Regions from separate parts of the Homo sapiens genome. Here regions 1 and 3 are each linked to region 2. Evidence: promoter capture Hi-C in 16 types of primary human blood cells and fetal thymus (Javierre and others, 2016). All regions are on one chromosome and are shown on one strand. The core of a region is centred on a gene start or on the middle of the fragment in contact, and the rest is flanking DNA. Distances in the headings are between cores, read along the strand shown. Region 1 overlaps LOC124904784 (a long non-coding RNA gene). Region 2 holds the start of ZIM3 (zinc finger imprinted 3). Region 3 holds the start of NLRP8 (NLR family pyrin domain containing 8).

The links. Contacts are between HindIII fragments. The CHiCAGO score rates a contact against its expected background, and 5 or more counts as called.
Region 1: a fragment that was not itself captured here is called in contact with the fragment with the promoter of ZIM3 in region 2 in 1 of 17 cell types (activated CD4 T cells); the score reaches 5.0 in activated CD4 T cells.
Region 3: a contact is called between the fragment with the promoter of NLRP8 here and the fragment with the promoter of ZIM3 in region 2, in 3 of 17 cell types (M2 macrophages, fetal thymus and M0 macrophages). The highest score is 8.9, in M2 macrophages.

What each region holds. Positions count from the first base shown.
Region 1 is chr19:58,166,138-58,170,279 of GRCh38, forward strand. The region is part of intron 1 of LOC124904784 (a long non-coding RNA gene); the gene reads left to right. Among named protein-coding and RNA genes, the nearest start is that of ZNF274, 15 kb to the right of the region's middle. The HindIII fragment of the contact is 1,581 bases long and covers 2,103-3,683 here.
Region 2 is chr19:57,141,964-57,146,451 of GRCh38, forward strand. ZIM3 (zinc finger imprinted 3) reads right to left here and starts at 3,239. Exons shown (of 5, transcript NM_052882.1): 1 at 2,896-3,239; 2 at 666-722. The coding sequence starts at 680. The HindIII fragment of the contact is 22,671 bases long and covers 3,200-4,488 here.
Region 3 is chr19:55,946,505-55,950,774 of GRCh38, forward strand. NLRP8 (NLR family pyrin domain containing 8) reads left to right here and starts at 1,328. Exons shown (of 10, transcript NM_001433706.1): 1 at 1,328-1,765. The coding sequence starts at 1,399. The HindIII fragment of the contact is 8,931 bases long and covers 1-4,270 here.

The DNA of each region.
Region 1 (4,142 bases), core at 1,643-4,142, 1.0 Mb after region 2:
TTCTTAGACTTGCAAACAGTTCAGTGTAGAAAAGCCTTATATATGAAATATACGTAGTAAATTTTTTAAGTGTAGCACAAGTCTCAGTCAATGTAAGCGAATTCATGTTAGAGAGAGTTGAGTTGAATGTAAGGAATGTGGAAAAGTGTATTCAGAGCTCCTCTCATCTTTGTTTTGAGAGCACTCACACAGTTGACAAACCCTCCAGATGTTCTGAATGTGAGAAATCCCTGTTTATGGTAAATACTTTCTGACATCAGAGAAGTCATACTGGAGAGAGACCATATAAATGTAGTATGTGTAAAGAAGTCTTTAAACAGAGCTCAACCCCACTGATGTATGAGCAAACTCTCTCAGGAAATAGACCTTACAAATGTGTTGAGTGTTGGAGAGTCTTTATTAAGAAATATTTCTTTCAGTATGTTTCAGAACTTATACAGGAGAACAATACTATAAATGTAATCGCTGTAGCAAAGGCTGTAGACACAAATTATACCTTATTCAATATGAGACAATTTATACTTGTGGGAAATTATATATTTGCAGTGAATTTAGGAAATTCTTCTAAAGAAGTGAACACTTTTACCCTATAGCTAAGAATCTATAGAGACACCTTATGAAGGGAATCATTCAGGGAAAGGTTTTACACTTTGCTCCTCCACTACTCAAAAATCACAGAAGACACACTGGAGAGCAAAGTGATGGATACAGTCATCGTGGGAAAGGCTTCAGACGTAGCCTAGCCCTTATGATGTGACATCAGAGGACTCATACTGAGGAAAACCCCATACATGTAATTTGCGTGGAAGAGCATTCAGGAGTTGTTCTCATATTATTGAACGTAAGAGGACTCATACTGGAGAACACTATGAATGCAGTCAGTATTGGCAAGCTTTCAACCATGGCTTTTACCTTATTTGACACCAGGAAATTCAAACAAATTAGAAAAACTCATTGAAAAAAGATCAATGTGGAAAAGCTATTGGTTGGAATTCCATTTTATTTGACATCAGGGATAAAGGAGGCAAAAGCCACCAGTTATTTTTTAACTCTTAAGTATCTGAATGTAACAAGACTGCAAACTTGTGACTCCCTGCAGCCACAGATCAGCAGGGATAAGCAGTTCTATTCTACATATGTCCCTAATTTGCCATAGAAACACCATTTAATGGGGACTCAGGGTCTAGGCCTGATGAACAATGTCTCATAGAAATGTCTGGCCATATGCGGCTGGGCACAGTGGCTCACGCCTGTAATCCCAGCACTTTGGGAGTCCGAGGCGGGTGGATCACGAGGTCAGGAGATCAAGACCATCCTGGCTAGCACCGTGAAACCCCGTCTCTACTAAAAATACAAAAAAAAAAAATTAGCTGGGTGTGGTGGTGGGCGCCTGGAGTCCCAGCTACTCAGGAGGCTGAGGCAGGAGAATGGTGTGAACCCAGGAGGCAGAGCTTGCTGTAAGCCGAGATCGTGCCACTGCACTCCAGCCTGGGTGACAGAGCAAGACTCCGTCTCAAAAAAAACAAGAAAAAAAGAAAAAGAAAAAGAAATGTCTCCCATATGCCTGTAATCCCAGCTACACAGGAGGCTGAGGCAGGAGAATAGCTGAACCCAGGAGGTGGAGGTTGCAGTGAACCAAGATCACACCACTGCCCTCCAGCCCGGGCAACAGAGCAAAACTCCATCTCAAAAAAAAAAAAAAAAATGGTTGCCATAGATAATCATGGCTGGGCACAGAGGCTCACACCTGTAATCCCAGCACTTTTGGAGGGCAAGGCAGGTGGATCACTTGAGCTCAGGAGTCCAAGACCAGCCTGTGCAACATGGAGAAACCCCGTCTCTAATAAAAATACAAAAATTAGCTGTGCGTGGTGGTGCATTCCTGTAGTCCCAGCTACTTGGGAAGTGAGGACTGCTTGAGGGGGTCAAGGCTACAGTGAGCTGAGATGGTACCACTGCACTCCAGCCTGGGTGACTAAACGAGACCCTGTCTAAAAGAAAAGAAAAGAAGAGAAATGGTTGTCATAGGTAATCACATGTAAATTTTTTTTTTTTTAAAGAGTGAGCAACAGTAAGATTTATTGCAAAGAGCGAAAGAACAAAGCTTCCACAGTGTGGAAGGGGACCCAAGCGGGTTGCCCATAAATGTTATCAGTGGCAACAGCGTATCTGTTTTTCTACATCACGTATGAATAAAAGAACCGTCAACCTTGAAGAATGGTGCAGGAATCATATGGCAACAGCGTATCTATTTTTCTACATCACGTATGAATAAAAGAACCGTCAACCTTGAAGAATGGTGCAGGAATCATACACCTTTTAGCATCATGGGGATCCTTATGTGTATAATTTTATGATAGTCCTAGATGAGGGCTGAAGGATATGCTATCAATTTTTTTCTGCATAATCCAAATATTATCACTCCAAACAAATCAGAGAGCTTTATACTAACTTGCTAATACTTTGCCAATAGCATTCTTCTATCTACTTGAATAGAAGCATCATAAAGAGTTGTATGTTGGCCAGGCACGGTGACTCACACCTGTAATCCCAGCATTTTGGGAGGCCGAGGCAGGAGGATCACCTGAGGTCAGGAGTTTGAGACAAGCCTGGCCAACATGGTGAAACCCTGTCTCTAGTAAAAATAGAAAAATTAGCTGAGTGTGGTGGCACATGCCTGTAATCCCAGCTACTTGGGAGGCTAAGGCAGGAGAATCAGTTGATCCCGGGAGGTAGAGGTTGCAGTGAGCCAAGGTTGTGCCATTGCACTCCAGCCTGGGTGACAAGAGCAAAACTCCATCTCAAAAAAATAAAAAAAATGAGTTGTACGTATCTTCACATTTCTAAGGGCATGTCCAATGTCTTGGCAGGGTTAAAAAGACATCATAGTCTGGTGAAGTACCCATACTCCAAAACTAGTGCAAACTTCACAAGTTTCATTGCAAATCCCTTACAAAGAGCACAGGGTATGTATAAGCAGCATTGGTTTCTCTTCTGAAACCCTGGACACTAGAAGATAAGTGAAGATTCCAGAAACACAAAGACTCTGATTTCAGGATTTGATGCTCAGCAAATATATCATTCACACATATGAGGAGAGAGTAAGCATTTTCAGACCTGTTAGCATTCAAAATTTGTATTCTTTCTGGAAAAACTGCCCAAGAGAACATAATAGTAATTTCTTACAATGGAAGTATGAGCCATGTCCCCAAAAGACATCTAAAAGGACACTCATAGAAGCATTAGTCATAAGGGGCCAAAACTGGATACAGCCCAGCAGTCCATCAATAATAAAATGTATAAACAAAATGTGGTACATCCATAGTGGAATACTACTCAGCAATTTACCAAACATTAACTACTGATACATGCAGCAACTTGGATGAATCTCTAACACATTATGTTGACACAGAAAACCATAGACTATATGATTCCATTTATATGAAGTTTGAGGACAGAAAAAAAACTTATGATGATAATCAGGATAGTGGTTAACTCTGGGAGATATTAACCAGGAAGTGGTACAGGGTTTTGGAAATATATTTTCTGTTGACCTGTGTGATGGATTTTTATATATGGACATTATATATTTATATATTTAGACATATATAAAAAAACTCATCAAGTTGTGAAGTTGAGGACTTTATGCCTATATATATGTTTATGTGTATATATATGTTTAAAGCTTATATAGTTTATGTATATAAAGGTTACATATAAACTTTAATTTAATTAATTAATTTTTTGAGACAACAGTCTCACTCTGTTGCCCAGGCTGGAGTGCAGTTGTGTGATCTCTGCTCACTCCAGCCTCTGCCTCCTGGGTTTAAGTGATTCTCCTGCCTCAACCACCTGAGGAGCTGGGATTACAAGCAAGCACCACCACACCTGGCTAGTTTTTGTATTTTTAGTAGAGACAGAGTTTCACCATGTTGGCCAGGCTAGTCTTGAACTCCTGATCTCAAGTGATCCTAATGCCTTGACCTCCCAAAGTACTGGGATTACAGGTGTGAGCCACCGTGACTGGACTAAACTTTAATTTTAAAAGTTTTAAAACGGCCGGGCGTGGTGACTCGTGCTTGTAATCTCAGCACTTTGGGAGGCCGAGGTGGGCGGATCACGAAGTCAGGAGATCAAGACCA
Region 2 (4,488 bases), core at 1,989-4,488:
GTATAAACCCCTAGTTTTAGTGAGTTAGGGAGATGGATTTGAGGCTGAGCTCCCATTTCTTCACCTACGGCAGCTGATTAAAGCTTCTTCCTTGGCAATACCCATTGTCTCAGTCATTGGCTTTCTGTGCAGCCAGTAGCAGGACCTAGACCAAACTCCTGGTGTTTCCGTAACCAAGCTTTTTTTTTTTTTTTTTTTGAGACAGGGTCATGCTCTGTCACCCAGGCTGGAGTGCAGTGGCACAATCATGGCTCACTGCAGCCTCAACCTCCCAGGTTCAAGCGATTCTCCCACCTCCGCCTCCAGAGTAGCTGAGACTACAGGTGTACGCCACCACCACCACACCCAGCTAATTTTTTGTAGAGACGGGATCTCGCCATGTTGCCCAGGCTGGTTTCAAACTCCTGAACTCAAGCGATCCGCCTGCCTTGGCCTCCTAGATTGCTGAATTACAGGTGTGAGCCACCATGCCCAGCCTTGAGCTTTACTTGAAATGTTTCAGCTTTAATAGGAAAGCAGAAAGTAGAGTGTGTGTTACCTTTTAATAGAAGTATGGAAGGAAGGAGGAAAATATGCCAAAAGGTTAGCACAGTTAATTCTGAGCAAGAGGAACGTGGGTCATACGTTTATTCATTATGAGATTTAGATTTTTTTGAAAAGCTCACCTGGGAATTGTTCATTTCCTGTTCTTCACCAGTCAGTAAAGTCTTGGGAAGGCAGATCTGAGGGAAAATGGAAAAGAACCATGAAATAGCAGAATTCGCTTTGGAAGTTGGGGATCATCCAGCATAGAATGCTCCACACCCTGGATAAAAGCTCTCCCTAACCCACTCAGAAAAGCCCTGACTTGTACCTCAGTGATCCCCTTCTGAAGGTCTTTTTTTTTTTTGTTTTGGTTTTTTTGTGTTTGTTTATTTATTGAGACTGGGTCTCAAAGAAGAAAGTGCAAGCCAGGCACGGTGGCTCACGCCTGTAATCCCAGCACTTTGGGAGGCTGAAGCAGGCAGATCACCAGAGGTCAGGAGTTCGAGACCAGCCTGTCCAACATGGTGAAACCCCGTCTCTACTAAAAATACAAAATTGGCTGGGCGCGGTGACTCATGCCTGTAATGCCAGCACTTTGGGAGGCCGAGGCAGGCGGATCACGAGGTCAGGAGATCAAGACCATCCTGGCCAACACGGTGAAACCCTGTCTCTACTAAAAATACAAAAACAAAATTAGCCAGGCGTGGTGGCGGGCGCCTGTAGTCCCAGCTACTCGGGAGGCTGAGGCAGGAGAATGGCGGGAACCCGGGAGGCGGAGCTTGCAGTGAGCCGAGATCGCGCCACCGCACTCCAGCCTGGGCGACAGAGCGAGACTCCGTCCCAAAAAAAAAAAAAAAGAGAGAGAGAGAAAGCTAAACAGCAGTTCAACAGCACCTTTAAAACAAGCCTGTGCAAAGACAATGAGGCAAGCATCAGATCAGCTAGAGCACAGTAAGGAAGGCCGAGAGCAGAAACCATGAATCCTGAAGCAGCTGTGGTCGTGACGAATAACGCCGCAGTGAACATGGGATGCAGATAGCCCTTCAGCTTTGCCATAAGCGGGACAGCTGGATCATTGGTAATTCTTTGCCAAAAGCGTAGATTTTGGCCACGCGTGGCAGCTCACACCTATAATCCCAGCACTTTGGAAAGCCAAGGTGGGAGGATCAGTTGAGCCCAGGAGTTACTTTTTTTTTTTTTTTTTTAAGACCAAGTCTTGCTCTGTCGCCCAGGCTGGAGTGCAGTGGCACAGTCTCGGCTCACTGCAACCTCTGCCTCCCGGGTTCAAGGGATTCCCCTGCCTCAGCCTCCCGTGTAGCTGGGATTACAGGCATGCACCACCATGCCCAGCTAATTTTTGCATTTTTAGTAGAGACAAGGTTTTACCATGTTGTTCAGGCTGGTCTCGAGCTGCTGATCTCAAGTGATCCGCCGGCCTCAGCCTCCCAAAGTGCTGGGATTATAGGCGTGAACCACCACATCCAGCCAAGCCCAGGAGTTTGAGACCAGCCTGTGCAACATAGTGAAACCTCTGTCTCAATGTTTAAGTAATAAAGTTTTTATTTTTTATTTTATTTTATTGAGGCAGGGTCTCATTCTGTCACCCAGGCTGGAGTGCAGTGATGTGATCCCGGCTCACAGCAGTTTAAAAATCCCTGGCTCAAGCAATCCTCCTACCTTGGCCTCCTGAATAGTTAAGACTATGGGTGCATGCTACCACATCAGCTAACTTTTTATTTTTTGTAAAGAAGGGATCTTGCTATGTCACCTAAACTGGTCTCAAACTCCTAGGCTCAAGCAATCCTCCTCCCTCAGCCTCCCCAAATCCTGGGATTACATGCATGAGCCACCACACCAGCCAGGAATAAAGTTTTAAATAAGTAAATATGTTTTTAAAAAGAATAAACTTGCCGGGCACAACTTTAATGTTTATTAAAGTTTGAGGAGTCCAATTCTAGCACAAAAAATATATATAATTTTAAAAAACAGTAAATTGTAAATGCTTTCACCACAAAAATAGATTAATTAGCTTGATTTAATCATCCCCCCAATGTAAACATGTATCAAAACATCACATTGTACCCCATAAATAAACACAATTATTATTTGTCAATAAAAAGTTTTTAGAAGTAGCTGTGGGCCAGCAGTAATGCTAAGGACTGGAGGGCCACGAAAATAATTTTGAGTGTCCTGGGAGCATCACTTTTCAATATGACAACTAAAAAAAAAATCTAAACTACCAATGTAAAATATTTAGCTTATTCCAGCAAATAGGAGAGGTAGAAAAATGAAACTAAGTAAAAATGCAAAACAAACAAACAAACAAAACCCAGACATTTGGTTTTCAGGGAGAAAAAAAAATCAGCTTACCTCCAGTGGAATCTGGCATAAATTAGCAAGTTGATTGATTTCTGATGCCTGTGGTCTTTTCTTCTGAAAGGGACTGAAAATGAAAAGGCGTGTATACTGAAAAGCTACACTAATGACTAAAACTTAATCGGCCCTCTACCCGCTGTATTCCGCATCATAATCCAGTCAAGAAACAACCCAAAACACTCACTTCCTATCAAAAGCCCCACCTGATCCTATCAGGCCACATCAAAATTTCAATTCCCAATTCTTTCCTCGACTTCTCCAAAACTGAATGAACTCTCATAAAAATTGTGATTGTGAAAGCTTAATTTTCAAATCTGCCCAATCAGTTTCCAATGGAATTTTTTTTAAGTTCATGCAAGTAAAAATTTTTTACCTTAACTTTGAAATAGAAAGCATGGAAAACATTATCCAAATGTCAGAGGATGAAAATAAATTAAAACAACAAAAATTGGCTGGGCACGGTGGCTCATGCCTGTAATCCCAGCACTTTGGGAGGACAGGAGTTCAAGACCAGCCTGGCCAACATGGGGAAACCCCGTCTCTACTAAAAATACAAAAATTAGCTGGTCATGGTGGCACGTGCCTGTAATCCCAGCTACTTGGGAGGCTGAGGCAGGAGAATCGCTTGAACCCGGGAGACGGAGGCTTCAGTGAGCCAAGATCGTGCCACTGCACTCCAGCCTGGGCAATGAGCGAGACTCCATCTCACGTCTCAAAAAAAAAAAAAGAAAGGAAAAGAAAAAAGAAATAGGGCCAGCGGAGGTGGAACAATGCCTTAAAGTGCTCTCCGCCCGACAGAAAGAATTCAGGCTCCAACCTCCAACTGGCAAAATCTCTTCAGCTGTACTAATACTCTCAAAATGAGATCAACATGCCAATCCATCCCCACCCTAGTCTGGGTGTTGAATTTAAACACAGGCTACATGCCCTTGCCTGCAGACATGGAGACCTTCCAAAATTGAGCGTCCAACTGAATTCCAAGAGATTAAACCAGACTTCATGGGACAGGATGCACCAGACTAGACCTCCTCCCAGGAGAAGAGGTATCCAAAGATCGTATTAGCAAATGACCCTTGGCGGTGTGCGGTGGCTCAAGCCTGTAATCCCAACACTTTGGGAGACTGAGGCAGACAGATCACCTGAGGTCAGGAGTTCAAGACCAGCCTGGTCAACATGGTGAAATCCTGTCTCTACTAAAAATACAAAAATTAGCTGGGCATGGTGGTACACACCTGTAGTCCCAGCTACTCAGCTACTCAAGAGGCTGAGGCAGAATTGCTTGAACCCAAAACACAGAGGTTGCTGTGAGCTGAGATCATGCCACTGCACTCCAGCCTGGGCGACAGAGGGAGACTCCATCTCAAAAAAAAAAAAAAGAAAAAAAAAGCAAAATGACCCAGCCAGCCTGAATCCCAGCCGCCGTGTCGGACTACTATAGTCCCAGATACTTGGAAGGCTGAGGTGGGAGGATCAATTGAGCCCAAGAGGTCAAGGCTGCAGTGAGCAAGGATCTTGCCACTGCATTCCAGCCTGAGAGACAGAGCAAGCCTGCAGGTGAACGGAAAGGGGTGGAGTGATTTTATATAT
Region 3 (4,270 bases), core at 78-2,577, 1.2 Mb before region 2:
AAGTTGGGGCAGGGGGGACAAAAATACACCCATGATCCTTTTTATTTTATTTCTTTTTTACATTTCTTTTAGATACAGGGGTACATGTGCAGGTTTGTTATATAGGCAAACGTGTTATGGGGGTGGGTTTGTTGTACAGGTTATCTCATCACCCAGGTATTAATCCCAGTACCCATTAGTTATTTTTCCTGATCTTCTCCCTCCTCCCACCCTCCAGCCTCTAGCAGACTCCAGTGTGTGGTGTTCCCTCTATGTGTCCATGTGTTCTCATCGTTTAGCTACCACTTATAAATGAGCACATGTGGTATTTGGTTTCCTGTTCCTGTGTTAGTTTGCTAAGGAATAATGGTCTCTGGCTCCATCTATGTTCCTGCAAAGGTCATGATCTCATTCTTTTTTATGGCTGCATAGTATTCCATGGTGTTTATGTACCACATTTTTTTATCCGGTCTATCACTGATGGGCATTTAGGTTGATTCCATGACTTTGCTATTGTGAGTAGTGCTGCAATGAACATACACAGGAATGTGTCTTTATAATAGAATGATTTATATTCCTTTGGATATATATCCAGTAATGGGATTGCTGAGTTGAATGGTAGTTCTCTTTTTAGGTCTTTGAGGAGTTGCCCCACTGTCATCCAGAGTAGTTGAACTAATTTACACTCCCACACACAGAGTATAAGTGTTCCTTTTTCTCTGCGACTTCACCAGCATCTGTTATTGCTTGACTTTTTAATAATCACCATTCTGACTGGTGTGAGATGACATCTCGTTGTGGTTTTGATTTGCATCTCTCTAATACATGATCCATTTTTTAAGAATACAGCATCTGTTATTGCTTGACTTTTTAATAATCACCATTCTGACTGGTGTGAGATGACATCTCGTTGTGGTTTTGATTTGCATCTCTCTAATACATGATCCATTTTTTTAAGAATAAAAACTTTGTTGAATTTGAGATCACTTTTAATCTAATGGAGCCTTCTAACCAACCATATATTTTCTAGATTTTAGCTTCACTGAATTATTTTACCTGCTTCTAATTTTTCTTTTCGCTAAACCTTTTGTGAAGGCTTTGATATTTTGCTTGCCTCTTCCCCAAAAGAAGTCATGGAGAATAGAAACTACAAACAATCCATTAGTCTAATGGACTAATCCCAAACATTCCATGCATCTTCAGTTTTTCCATAGGGCAGAGAATCTTTGAGGAAAGGAGGTAAAGGGAGTACCCGGCACGCAGAATACCTGCCAAGTAAGCATTACACGAATCTGTTTTCTTGGGTAGTGTTTTCATCTTCTTGTTTTATTGTTTTATGTCTCTGCAGGTCTCGTGTTTCTCTCTTCCAATCGGTTGTCTTTATCGTGGACACTGAGGTGTTCTCTGCCTTGACTAAAGATGAGTGACGTGAATCCACCCTCTGACACCCCCATTCCCTTTTCATCCTCCTCCACTCACAGTTCTCATATTCCGCCCTGGACATTCTCTTGCTACCCCGGCTCCCCATGTGAAAATGGGGTCATGCTGTACATGAGAAACGTGAGCCATGAGGAGCTACAACGGTTCAAGCAGCTCTTACTGACTGAGCTCAGTACTGGCACCATGCCCATCACCTGGGACCAGGTCGAGACAGCCAGCTGGGCAGAGGTGGTTCATCTCTTGATAGAGCGTTTCCCTGGACGACGCGCTTGGGATGTGACTTCGAACATCTTTGCCATTATGAACTGTGATAAAATGTGTGTTGTAGTCCGCAGAGAGATAAATGGTGAGTGTTGATCTGGTGGATAAAGTGGGGGTGGGCTTGGCTGCTGGGCAGCTAAACTACTCTAGTCACCACCCCTATCACTTATTGGCCTTCTGAGCAAGAAAGCAAACAGTGGAGGAAGATAATGGATCTAACCCAAAGGCAAAGACTGTCATACGGGCATTTTTTTAATTTTATTTTTCTGAGATGGGGTTTCGCTCTTCTTGCCCAGGCTGAAGTGCAATGGCACAATCTCGGCTCACTGCAAACCCCGCCTCCCAGGTACAGGTGATTCTCCTGCCTCAGCCTCCTGAGTAGCTGGGATTACAGGCACCCACCACCATGCCTGGGTAATTTTTTTTTATTTTTAGTAGAGACGGGGTTTCACCATGTTGGCCAGGCTGGTCTCGAACTACTGACCTCAGGTAATCCGCCTGCCTTGGCCCCCCAAAGTGCTGGGATTGCAGGTGTGAGCCACTGTGCCCAGCCCATATGGGCCTATTTTTTAAAAACTTAACTGAATACTGCTTATATGAGGTGAACGTTAAATGAAGTCATAGAGAAGTAGGAAGTAAAATAGTGGAAAAGCATATGCTATGGAAACAGCAGAAGACAGCTGGTATAGCTATGGTGATGTCAGGAGTGCTATATTTAAAGCAAGAAGGTTAAACACTTTAAAAGGCCATTTCGCAGCAACAAAGGGTGAATCCCACTGGAGGATATTGTAATCCAAAACCTCATCTTCAATATGAATAAAGCAGAGCTGGACTACAGTCATCCCCTTATCCAAGGTTTTGCTTTCTGAAGTTTGGGTTGATCATGGCCAAAAATAGATGAGTACAGTACACTGAGATATTCTGAGACAGAGAGAGACCACATTTACATACCGTTTATGATAGTATAGTATTATAATTGTTCTATTTCATTATTATTGTTAATCTCTTACTGTACCTAATTTATAATTTAAACTTTTATCATAGATCGGTATGTATTTTTTTTCTATTTTGAGATGGAGTCTTCATTCTGTCACACAGGCTGGAGTGCAGTGGTGTGATCTCAGCTCACTGCAACCTCCACCTCCCAGGTTCAAGCAATTCTCATGCCTCAGCCTCCCCAGTAGCTGGGATTACAGGTGCGCACCACCACACCCAGCTAATTTTTGTATTTTTAGTAGAAACGGGGTTTCACCATGTTGGCCAGGCTGGTTTCAAACTCCTGACCTTAGGTGATTTGCCTGCCTCGGCCTCCCAAAGTGCTGGAATTACAGGTGTGAGCCACCACACCCGGCCTAGATATGTATTTAAAAAAATCAGTATCCACATTGTTCAGTACTATCCACAGTTTCAGATATCCACCGGGGATCTTGGAACATAGACCCTGCAGAGAAGGGGGGACTACTGTATTAAAGGAAAATACACCAATCCAGAAACATGATAGGAGCTGTGAACCCGCCTCTCCCAATAGCTGATATTACAAGTAGTCAGTCTCATTGGTAAGAATGGAGAAAACGTCAGCTCCACAGTTTTAAACATAAACACAGGAGAGTGGGTGCCTTACGTCTCCTTAGCCACTGGCACCCCAACAGCTGGCTCAGCACCTAGCATGTCATAGGTGCTCAAATATTAGATGGCTAGAGAGTAATTGATTGTGAAAAGGGACTTTCTTTTGATAAGGCAGCCTAGGAAGTCCTCTTTGAGGAAATGATGCTAAGGTTGAGACCTAACACAGGAGGAAATAGCTCATCATGTGAAAAGGAGAGAGAGTCACCGGAAAAGAAAATCAGAGGGGATGGAAACCCCGTGACCCAGTGGTAGAGAAAATCTTAGTGTTAAACAGAAAATGTTAATATTTATGAAAACCTGATGAAAAATACACAGAGAGGCCAGGCACGGTGGCTCACGCCTGTAATCCCAGCACTTTGGGAGGCAGAGGTGGGTGGATCACCCAAGGTCAGGAGTTCAAGACCAGCCCGGCCAACATGGTGAAACCCAGTCTCTACTAAAACTACAAAAAAAAAAAAAATAGCCGGGCGTGGTGACGGGTGCCTGTAATCCCAGCTATTCGGGAGGCTAAGGCAAGAGAATTGCTTGAACCCAGGAGGCAGAGGTTGCAGAGGGCTAAGATCATGCCACTGCACTCCAGCCTGGGTGACAAAAGCAGAACTCCATCTCAAGAAACACACACACACACACACACACAGAGACACACGTACGCAGTTGATCCTCATTGTTCATGGATTCTGTATTCGTGAATGTGCCTACTCATTAAAATGTATTCGTAACCCCCAAATCAATACTTACAGCGCTTTCAAGATCATTCCCAGACAGCAACGCAGCAAAAAAATCGAGCTGACCTCCTAGCCGAGGTCAAACAAGGTGACGCTCTGCCTTCTGGCTTTAGCTCTCACCCCGTAAGCCAGTGTCATTTCCACGCCTATGTGGTGCCACACTTTTGTGCTTTGAGTTGGTGGTTTTGCTGTTTAAAATAGCACCCAGGCTGGGCACGATGGCTCACGCCTATAATCCC